Linked DNA regions of Homo sapiens: regions 1 and 3 are each linked to region 2. The links are contacts of gene promoters, found by promoter capture Hi-C in human tissues and cell types (Jung and others, 2019). All regions are on one chromosome and are shown on one strand. The core of a region is centred on a gene start or on the middle of the fragment in contact, and the rest is flanking DNA. Distances in the headings are between cores, read along the strand shown. Region 1 overlaps UNC80 (unc-80 subunit of NALCN channel complex). Region 2 holds the start of UNC80 (unc-80 subunit of NALCN channel complex). Region 3 overlaps MAP2 (microtubule associated protein 2).

The links. Contacts are between HindIII fragments. The study calls those that stand out against the background at their distance.
Region 1: a fragment that was not itself captured here is called in contact with the fragment with the promoter of UNC80 in region 2 in 1 of the 25 tissues and cell types used here (H1 embryonic stem cells).
Region 3: a fragment that was not itself captured here is called in contact with the fragment with the promoter of UNC80 in region 2 in 2 of the 25 tissues and cell types used here (dorsolateral prefrontal cortex and mesendoderm cells).

Annotation. Positions count from the first base shown.
Region 1 is chr2:209,954,307-209,957,562 of GRCh38, reverse strand. The region is part of intron 48 of UNC80 (unc-80 subunit of NALCN channel complex); the gene reads right to left. Among named protein-coding and RNA genes, the nearest start is that of RPE, 47 kb to the left of the region's middle. The HindIII fragment of the contact is 3,752 bases long and covers 1-3,198 here.
Region 2 is chr2:209,770,213-209,773,263 of GRCh38, reverse strand. UNC80 (unc-80 subunit of NALCN channel complex) reads right to left here and starts at 1,432. Exons shown (of 65, transcript NM_001371986.1): 1 at 1,100-1,432; 2 at 122-170. The coding sequence starts at 1,191. The HindIII fragment of the contact is 3,928 bases long and covers 1-2,825 here.
Region 3 is chr2:209,569,070-209,572,174 of GRCh38, reverse strand. All of the region lies in intron 2 of MAP2 (microtubule associated protein 2), which reads right to left. Among named protein-coding and RNA genes, the nearest start is that of MAP2, 150 kb to the right of the region's middle. The HindIII fragment of the contact is 8,691 bases long and covers 1-3,105 here.

The DNA.
Region 1 (3,256 bases), core at 73-2,572, 180 kb before region 2:
AAGCACACATAAGTTTTAAGTTAGTTTTAGAGTCTTCAAAAGACAGGCTGTCTAGCTTTGGGCTTTTCTGTTTGTTCTGAGAGGCACTTTAAAAGAACATTGATTCCCAGGGGTTTATAAGCTCATCATGATTTAAGTTCTTCCACTTCTTTGTTCTGAGTAATAGACTCGTCAAAATGACTCTTCCAACAAGACATTTATGAAATATCTACAGACTTCTAAGTCTGTACCAGTTGAGAGTAAAGAGGTCATTCTTCAGTTCTACTGGGTAGTTCACCATTCTAGATAATAAGTAAAAGGCAAGGATGTATGTACCACTTTGGCCACCTACACCATTATCAACTACTCTATTTTTTCTGAGAAACTATCAAAGAATAAAAGAATTCTCCTAGTCACATCACACCTAAGGCTACCCAGGAAAGTGAGTAAGTTAGTATCTTATAAGTCAGTAATTTAGATCGTTAGTAATAGATTTGAATCATCTCATTTTATATCTGCCAGATTTACTTCAAATAATAGGTAAAATTTGCCTCTGTATTGGCATCTAGGACGAAAAAGGCATAATGCAGTTTTTTTTAAAGCAACTGCTTTTATGAAATCATCAAGGTTTGCTTCTTTGTTGCTCACTTTCTGTCTGCTGGGGATGGCTAGAAAGTAAGCTTTTAACGATCACACCAGATCTCCTCTTCCTGTGCCTGTTGTGATAGACACAATTTAGAGATGGCTCCCAGTATCTTTGCCCGTTGGTGTTACTCTAGTGATTATGTTACATTATACGGCAAAAAGGGGGAGTATCTGCATAGGCCTAATCTAGTCACACCAGCCCTTCAAAAGCAGAGAGTCTTCTCTGGCTAGGGCAGAGAGATTTGAAGCATAAGGATTCAAGATGCTATGCTGGTGCGCTGCACATGTATACATATGTAACTAACCTGCACAATGTGCACATGTACCCTAAAACTTAAAGTATAATTTAAAAAAAATTAAAAAATTTAAAAAAAAAAGGATTCAAGATGCTATTGCTGGTTGGAAGGTAGAGGGGGAGCATGTGAGAAGAAATGCAGGTGCCTTCTCAATGCAGAGTGGTGCCTGGCTGACAGCCAGCCAGGAAATGGGACCTCAGACCTAAAGCCGCATGGAACTAGATTCTGCCAAAAAATTGAATGAGCTTGGAAGTTCATTCTTCCCCAGTGCCTTCAGATAAAAGTTCAGACTAGCTGACAACTTGACTTCCACCTTGAGAAACCCTGAGCAGAGAATTCTTATCTTCTTTTTGTAAATACAGTGAAGCCAATTTTGGTTTGAGTAACTACTACCAAATAATGAAGCTAGTCTTCTCTGCCAAAAGAATATTAAATGCACTGGAATATTTAAAGCCACATAATTTTAAATGCCAGAGCTCCATCCATAACTCTTTGTGACACTTCGAGTAAGTCAATTTTGGATAAGTTAATTGACTTATCCTTATAAAAAGGTATAGAAATGAGGAAAGCTTTAACATTACGTAATATGAGGAGAAATAGGCTGAGTATGGTGGCTTACACCTGTAATCCCAGCACTTTAGGAGGCCGAGGTGGGTGGATCACTTGAGGCCAGGAGTTCGAGACCAGCCTGGCCAACATGGGGAAACACCGTCTCTACTGAAAATACAAAAATTATCGGGGCCTGGTGGTGCATGCCTATAATCCCAGCTTTTTGGGAGGCTGAGGCATGAGAATTGCTTAAACCCGGGAGGCGGAGGTTGCAGTGAGCCAAGATTATGCCACTGAACTCCAGCCTGGGTGACAGAGTGAGTCAGTCTCTCTCTGTGTGTGTGTGTGTGTGTGTATATATATATATATATATATATATATATATATATATATATATATATTAGAAATACAGTGGCATTTGGGAACAATTGACTGCTTTTCTTTCTTCTAGTTGTAGGAAAAGGCCAGTGACATAACCAGATGGGTACAGAAGGAAGAGTGTAAGTCTTTCATTTCTCTTTAGGATATTCTTCTGGGACTTTCATGAAACCATCAGCAATAGCATAGAAAACTATTTCTCCTTGGAAGAGATAATTTGTCATGGCTGTCTGTGCCAACTCTTCCCATTTCCTTAGTTTAGGTGCATATGAACATTTCAGGATGATAGTCTACAGAAGGCTTTTGGGCAATATTCTGCTTGCCTAGTTTGGCAATGTAGCTCATGATTAGAAACTAAACATCTGTTGCTGCTAATGAATTACAATCCCACTCTCTCTTTTTCTTGCTGATGCATGCTGAAAAAGTCCTTCCTGGACTAAAGGGCTTCCCCCTTACCAGCACAGCAAGATGGGGCTGGGGGAGTTGGTGCCTTTTGGTGGAGGCGTAGACAATTTCACACTAAGGATCTGGCACTTTAGATTGGACACACAGCATGGCAGAATGGAATGGAGGAGCAAAGACACTAAACCCAGGAAGAAGGCTTCCCCATCCCTATCCTGGGGAAGAATATTTCCTGGCAGCTAATTTAGATGGGAACAGAGCAGAAAAGCCCATCATACGCATAGTGTCCTGCATCCACCTTCCCCACTTGCATTTTATTTTTTTGTCTCATCCAGGGCTCCCTGCCTGCCCCTTTCCTGCCACATGGCAGCTTAGTGACTCTGCTTCGGCACCCAAGCATCTTGCGACAGGACTAACTGCTTGAACTTTGTTTAGGGCTGAACTCTGGTGCCAATTTACCTTACCATTCCCAAATTTCTCAATCCTCTCTCCGCATTATTTAATCCTGTCCCACAGAGAATCTATTAATTCAAGCAGTAGGATAACATTCTGCTGTTTATATTGGTTATGTAGTTTCTGAAATTATAGTTAAAAACACAACACTTCACAAACAGTAAAATAATAAAAGAATACTTAGTTGGAATTGTAGGCATTCCATGTCTCATAAAATACTATAATAACTAATAAAAATGTAGATTACATCTTTAAATTCACTAAATTGGCCCTCTTACACAAGATGTGTTTACCACTGGGTTATAACTGCTGGAGAAGCTCAGCAAGCTATATGCAAATGTGTGTTTAGCAATGATAGTAAGAATATTATTACTATTATTATACTACTACTAATCAGAATGCTTAACATTATTTATTCAAATAACTCACGAACTGTTCACAGTTATAAGGCATAAAGGGCTGAGTTTAGGAGGTATCTGTAAATAAAGATTGGGTTTTAGATTTTTATCCATCACATTTTTTTCTTATTTTTTTTTTTTCAGTGGAAACATATG
Region 2 (3,051 bases), core at 183-2,682:
TGATCAATAATATTTGCCAAGTGAATTAATATATATAGTCCGTTTGATTTAAAATCTGTCTTTGGGTTCAAACCACCACACAGAATAGGGAAATAATTATTAAATGGTGAAAATCACATACCACACAAGAAGCTTCATATTGCTTCCCCAGTTTGGGCCTCAAAAATGCACTGAAAAATTAATAGAGATATTTGTTAATAAACATAAGTAAAATTATTATTAAAGCATCCTTGTGACGTATTTTTCAATGAATAAGACAGGATGCTATGAAATTCAAATTTCATGCTTCCTTATAGCTTTTTAATGAGCAGGTGTTGAACAGCTGATGACATTTTCTTTTACACGTGTAATTGCATATATGAAAGAGAAGTGGATCTCGATGGTTTTCGGTATCCACTCTTAATCTGAAGACTTCTAAGATTTTAAATCGCCAGTGGTCAGAAGTGGTGCATTACTTACGTGTACAGTCATAATAAAAACTGAAAATTGAACACGGCTTATGGGTCATAATTTCCAGAATCTAATATCTTATCTGATAAATCTCTAAAATAACAATAATAAAGAAAACCTTTTCTGTTTATTGGAATAGGTGTCAGGCCTTTCCGGGGTTGTGGGGGAAGGTCCCTTATCACAAATCCTCAGGAGATTTAACTGGGGAGATTAATCTGAGCAAAACGGTTAACAAGTGGGCATAGCAGATATTCGCCAAACAGGAGCTGGAAAAACAACAGGTCACTGGGCTAGAATTACAGCAGGAGATGGAGGGGGAATTGGACGCAGGAGCACAACCAGTCATAATTATCTAGCTCCCCGCCCCCTCTTCCCAGGCTCTCTGCCCTCCCACCCCCTAAAATAATGTATACATTTATGCGACAACTGCCAATCTGCTTGTCGTCAAACTTCACTGAAATATATACATATATATACATATTTTAATGCGTGTTTTTAAGCTGGTGCAGAGGGCTTGTTTTCCAGCCCCAGAGAGGGAGCTGCAGGCTGTGGCGCGGCCTCAGCGGCGGCGGCGGCAGCGGCGACCCGGGCGGCCCCAGGAGCGCCCCCAGCCCAGGGCGGCCCGCGGTGCGCCCTCTGCGCCCCTCACCTGGTTTGCCGCCACAGGAAGGTCTGGATGGGCAGGGGGATGCCGCGGCCGCCGTCCTGCTCCTGGCCCTCGGAGCTCTTCCTCTTCACCATAATGGTGGCTCCCGGGAGTCCTACTGCAGGACCCAGCTCTGTCTCCTCGCTAGCCGCCGCCGCCGCCTCCTCCCGCTGCTCCCAACTCTCATCCCCTCCTTCCCCGAGGCAGAGCCGGCTCTCTCCGCCCTGATCCCCCGTGCCTCTCCCCTCCCCCCACCCCTCCCCGCGCGTGGAACATGGCTGCGGGAGGAGGGGAGGGCTGGAGGAGCCGCGGAGCGAGGAGGGGGGCGCTCGGAGCAGCGGTCCGCCTCGCCGCCCCCGCACCCGCTCCCTGCTTTCAGCACCTCCCACTGTGGACAGCGGCCCGCGCCGGGCTGCACGGCCGGAGAAGCGAATCCGGGGCAGCTTGAGCCGCAGGGGTACGGCCCAAGAAGTCCACGCTCCGCATCGCAGGCGCTCGTCCCCTGCGCGGCCTCTTCAGCCCCCGGAATTCGGCTTTCCCCGCTCCGAGCTGCACTCAGGAGTGTCCCCTGTCCTGCTTTCCAACCTCAGCATCCAAACTGTCGCCGTCTGGGTAGGAGGAGCTTTGGGGAACCGCAGAGCAGTCGCTAACCCTGGCATCATTCTCACCTCCAGCAAGGAGATCAGGAGTCCAGGGGTTAGCCGGAGGAACACATGAAAATTATTAGAAGTGTAAACCAGGAAGGTGAGGCAAGGTTGGCAAGTGAGAGGAAGCTTGAAAGATCTTAGATATGAGAAGTTATTTTTATATGATAACCACAAGAAATAAACCTTGTTTGTTTTCCTAAAGCAGGAATACAAAGTTCCCAAAGTAACCAGTTGTGGATATCAGTTAATTGCAAATTGAGGAAGAACATTTGAATCATGCTGTGAGGAAATGTGGTTTATTACAGTCCATTAAATGCACTTGGGTGATCCTGTTCGCCCCCAGTGATAGCTACCATTTTCCTTCAGTTGTAATAGTCAAATGCTTATATGTTACATATATTAATATTTTATAGTTGGATTGCTGTTAGATATATTATCTAGGAGTAAAACAAGTAGGCCGGGGAGGGGGGTGAGGTGGGGTGAAGCAATCGGAATAGTAACTACCTGCAATTCCTCCTCCTCCCCCTCCTCCTTCTCCTTCTTCCTCCTCCTCCTCCCCCTTCTCCTCCTCCTCCTCTTCTCCTCCTTCTCCTTCTTTCTTCTTTCTTGTTCTTTGACGGAATCTCGCTCTTCAACCAGGCTGGAGTGCAGACGTGTGATCACGACTCACTGCAGCCTTGACCTCCCAGGCTCAAGAGATCCTCTCAGCTCAGTCTCCCCAACAGTTGGGACTACAGGTGTGCACCACTACTCCCAGCTAATTTTTTATTTTTGTAGAGATGGGGGTCACACTATGTTTCCCAGGCTAGTCTCAAACTCCTGGGCTCAAGCAATCCTTTCACCTTGGCTTCTCAAAGTTCTGGGATTACAGGCATGAGCCACCATGCCTGGCCTCATCTTTTAGAGCAAAGATATTGGTGTAATCCATGAAATGAAGAATCAGACTCCAGGTCCTAATCTCAACAGATGTAATATTTCATATATAATTAACAGCATAGTATATATCAATATTTTTTGCCATAGAAATAAATTCTTCATTTACTTTCTTGAAGTTATCTTTTATTATGAATCTCAAAAATATGGATCTTATGATCTCAAATATGGATCTTGAAACAAAGAAAGATTCTAAGTACAGTTTACTCAAGGCATATTTATTGAGTGTATTTTATATACTCATAGCTCTATGGAGCTATATGGACTCTTGCTCACAAGGAAGTCTGAATATTAAGAGAAGACAGACATGAAAAGAGAAAAGAATCATGGGAGATACGAATGCAGATTCAGTTATGAACAAAAGGTCAAGGCAGA
Region 3 (3,105 bases), core at 445-2,944, 200 kb after region 2:
CAGGCTTTAATACTTCTGAGTTATGATGAACAGAGTTTAGCTTGACTATTTCATTTAGAATCTTAGTATGATGATTTTTTTAAAAAATCACTTATATTCTTATCCAAATGTATGTACATAATACATTTCAAATTATTTTTGGATTATGCACCATCTTGAACCTCCGAGATATTCATATTTCACTGACAAATTTTGCACAATTCTAAAAGTAATAAATTCTCGTTTTTCTTTATTCCATCAGTGCTTTTATTTCACTTATCAAGGTAAAGCCAATGGGATGGTATAAATGGAGAGAGAGAAAGAAAGACAGGTTATTCTTATTGTCAGCATTCAAAGTCTGACTGCAATTTAATAAAAACACTTGCTTAAAAGCCATATTTAGATTTCATATGACATTACCACCTAAGCTCATGAAATAACTATACTCAAAGTTCTAGTCTTCTCACATACTTTTACTAAAGTAAAATAAACCAAACTTCTTTTTAAAAACAATGTCACATGAACTATAATTATGAAAAATAATTGCTACTTCAATTCCTGAAGTCATAATCTCATTACACTTTAAGAACTATGTTGGGAATTAAAAGCTCTCAAGAGGTTGAAAGGAAAACTATAATAGTTGAACAACTAAGACTCTCATACATTGCTGGTGAGAGCTTAAATTAATACAACCACTTTGGAAAACTGTTTGGCAATATCTAGTGAAAGTAAATACTAAACTAAATATATGGAATAATATATGAACTTCCAGAGCAGATAAAACTAATATTCAGAGAAAGAAATCGGAATACTGTTTACCTCTGTAGAAAGTAGTATGAGAGACTGTATTGACTTGGAAGATGTACAATGTCTTCTTGACCTGAGTGGCAGTGACATGGGGTAGAGGGCACTCTATTAATGTAATGTACCTTCATAATAAAAATTGTAATAAATATTATGGTGCCATTGTTTTAGAAGTTCTTCATTCATAAGTTTTAGGATCTATAGTGAATATTATGCAAAAGGGTTCTTGTATAAGCATATATTTTACACACATACCATGTAACCATGGCTGTGTAAATAAAGACTATATGATTATGTGTATATTAAATAAACAAATTGTAAGGGCACATTCTCCTTAGTAGGGAGAGTATGTTTTACATTGGCTTTTAGTAAATAAATGGCAACTGTAAAGTAAAAGCACATGAAATGAGAAATGGAAGTAAAATTTGTATTTTAGGAATATGGCAACAAGTGAAAGTATTTGTGTGAAGCAGCCCTTACAGAACTACGCTATTATGACAAAAGAATGGACAGCTAAGATGCTTCCCGTATCATCCTTTTCACAAAAATCCATTACCCATTGAGGCCTATCGTAATCGTAAGTTTATTTCAGGAATCACTGATTTCTTCTCTTCCAACCCAAATCTTACATTTCCTTTTAGGTTCATTTAAAATTGTGCCTTTTTCATAATGGCTTCCAAAATTCCCACAAGCACATAATGTCATAAAGCTCTTTCCTTTCTCAGAATCGCCAACATATAAATCAAAAAACAAAAACCATCATTATACTATAATGCCTGTTATTAGATACGGGCTTGGTCCATTTTTCAGTAATTTACATTCAGTTATTTATTCTAATATTTGCGAATTTGAAAAGCATATGACATGATTCTGATAAAATGATTAAGAACCTATAAAGTGCCAGTCTTTTTGAGTACATTATTTTATTCAACAATTCTGAGAGTCATGTGCCTCCATTTTACAGTTGAGGAAATAGGCCTAATTAGGTTTAGTAAAGTGCCCAGGGGAACACAGCTGGTAAGTGGTAGAGCAGAAATTCAATCCCTGGACTTCTCAGCTAATTAGTTTGTAATTCAGCCTAACACTTAGAAGGTATCAGAAGAGGAAGAGATAAACATAGAACTAAGAATTTTCCATTTACACTTACAAGATAGCAGAAAGGGAAGAGATAAATTAAACACAGAATTAAGAATTTTCTATTTTTCCAGGAGAGGGAGTTTAGACAGACTACTTGTTATGTAAGTAGGCTGTGCATAAAACAGATAAGATTAAAAATATAGATTTTTACTGTCAGAATTATTTCAGATTCCATCAGTTCATATTTAAATAATATATATGTATAAACAAGCATTCCTGGAGGTGAGGAAAACATCTTAATTTTAATTACTATCTATCTGGTTTAATCTTGGCAGAGGATATAGAATATATGAGTGCAATATAGGCTCATGGGTTTTTAAAGAACTTTGCTGTTTGACAATTTGGGCTTATTATGATTGTTTTGAAACATCTTGTTGAAATTAACTCCTATCTTAGAAGTACAGATGATAATAGTAAAGTACGTATCTTAACACAATCACTACCCTTATTTTATTCTATCAAGTTAGAAATCATCAAACATCATGGTGAATCTTAAACGTTACATGAGAAAACACCATATCATGTTATGTAATCTATGTCCATTAAAAAAGTTAACACATTTTTAATAGTTAAATTTTGGTGTGGACACTTTTTCATTTCAGACAATTCTATTCTTTCCATGAAGTTTTCCCTCAGATATTGCCTTCTCAAGCAGGCTTCACCTGACCATCCTATTCAATACTGCAATCTGTAATTCCTACTCCCAATCCCCCTTACTCCATTTTGCTATCATCTTCTAATGTGCCACATAATTAATTTACTTGTTATGTTTATCCTTTATTGTCTTTCCCCATTCACTTGTAAGCTTCATGAAGGCAAGACTCTGCCTGTTTTGTTCATGAATGTATCCCAAATACCTAGAACTAGGTCTGGTATATAACTGGTGCACAATAAATATTCAATAAATATTCATTCATGCATGCATGAACACTGAAACACTGAAATTAAAACATTAAAGCTCATATAAGAAGCATAAATTACCTTCCTAAAAGTCTTAGGGCTAAAAGTTTCAGAAATCATGAGATAAAACATGTAGTGTAAGTGTTTCATTTATTTTGGGTCTTGGTTAGCTATTTGAATATACAAATTTTAGATTTTTCATCTTTGGCACATTTATAGGGAGTTTGAGTAACCCCTCTTCCTTTACTTCAAGTTTTAAAAAGTATTTACTTATTTTTTTATTTC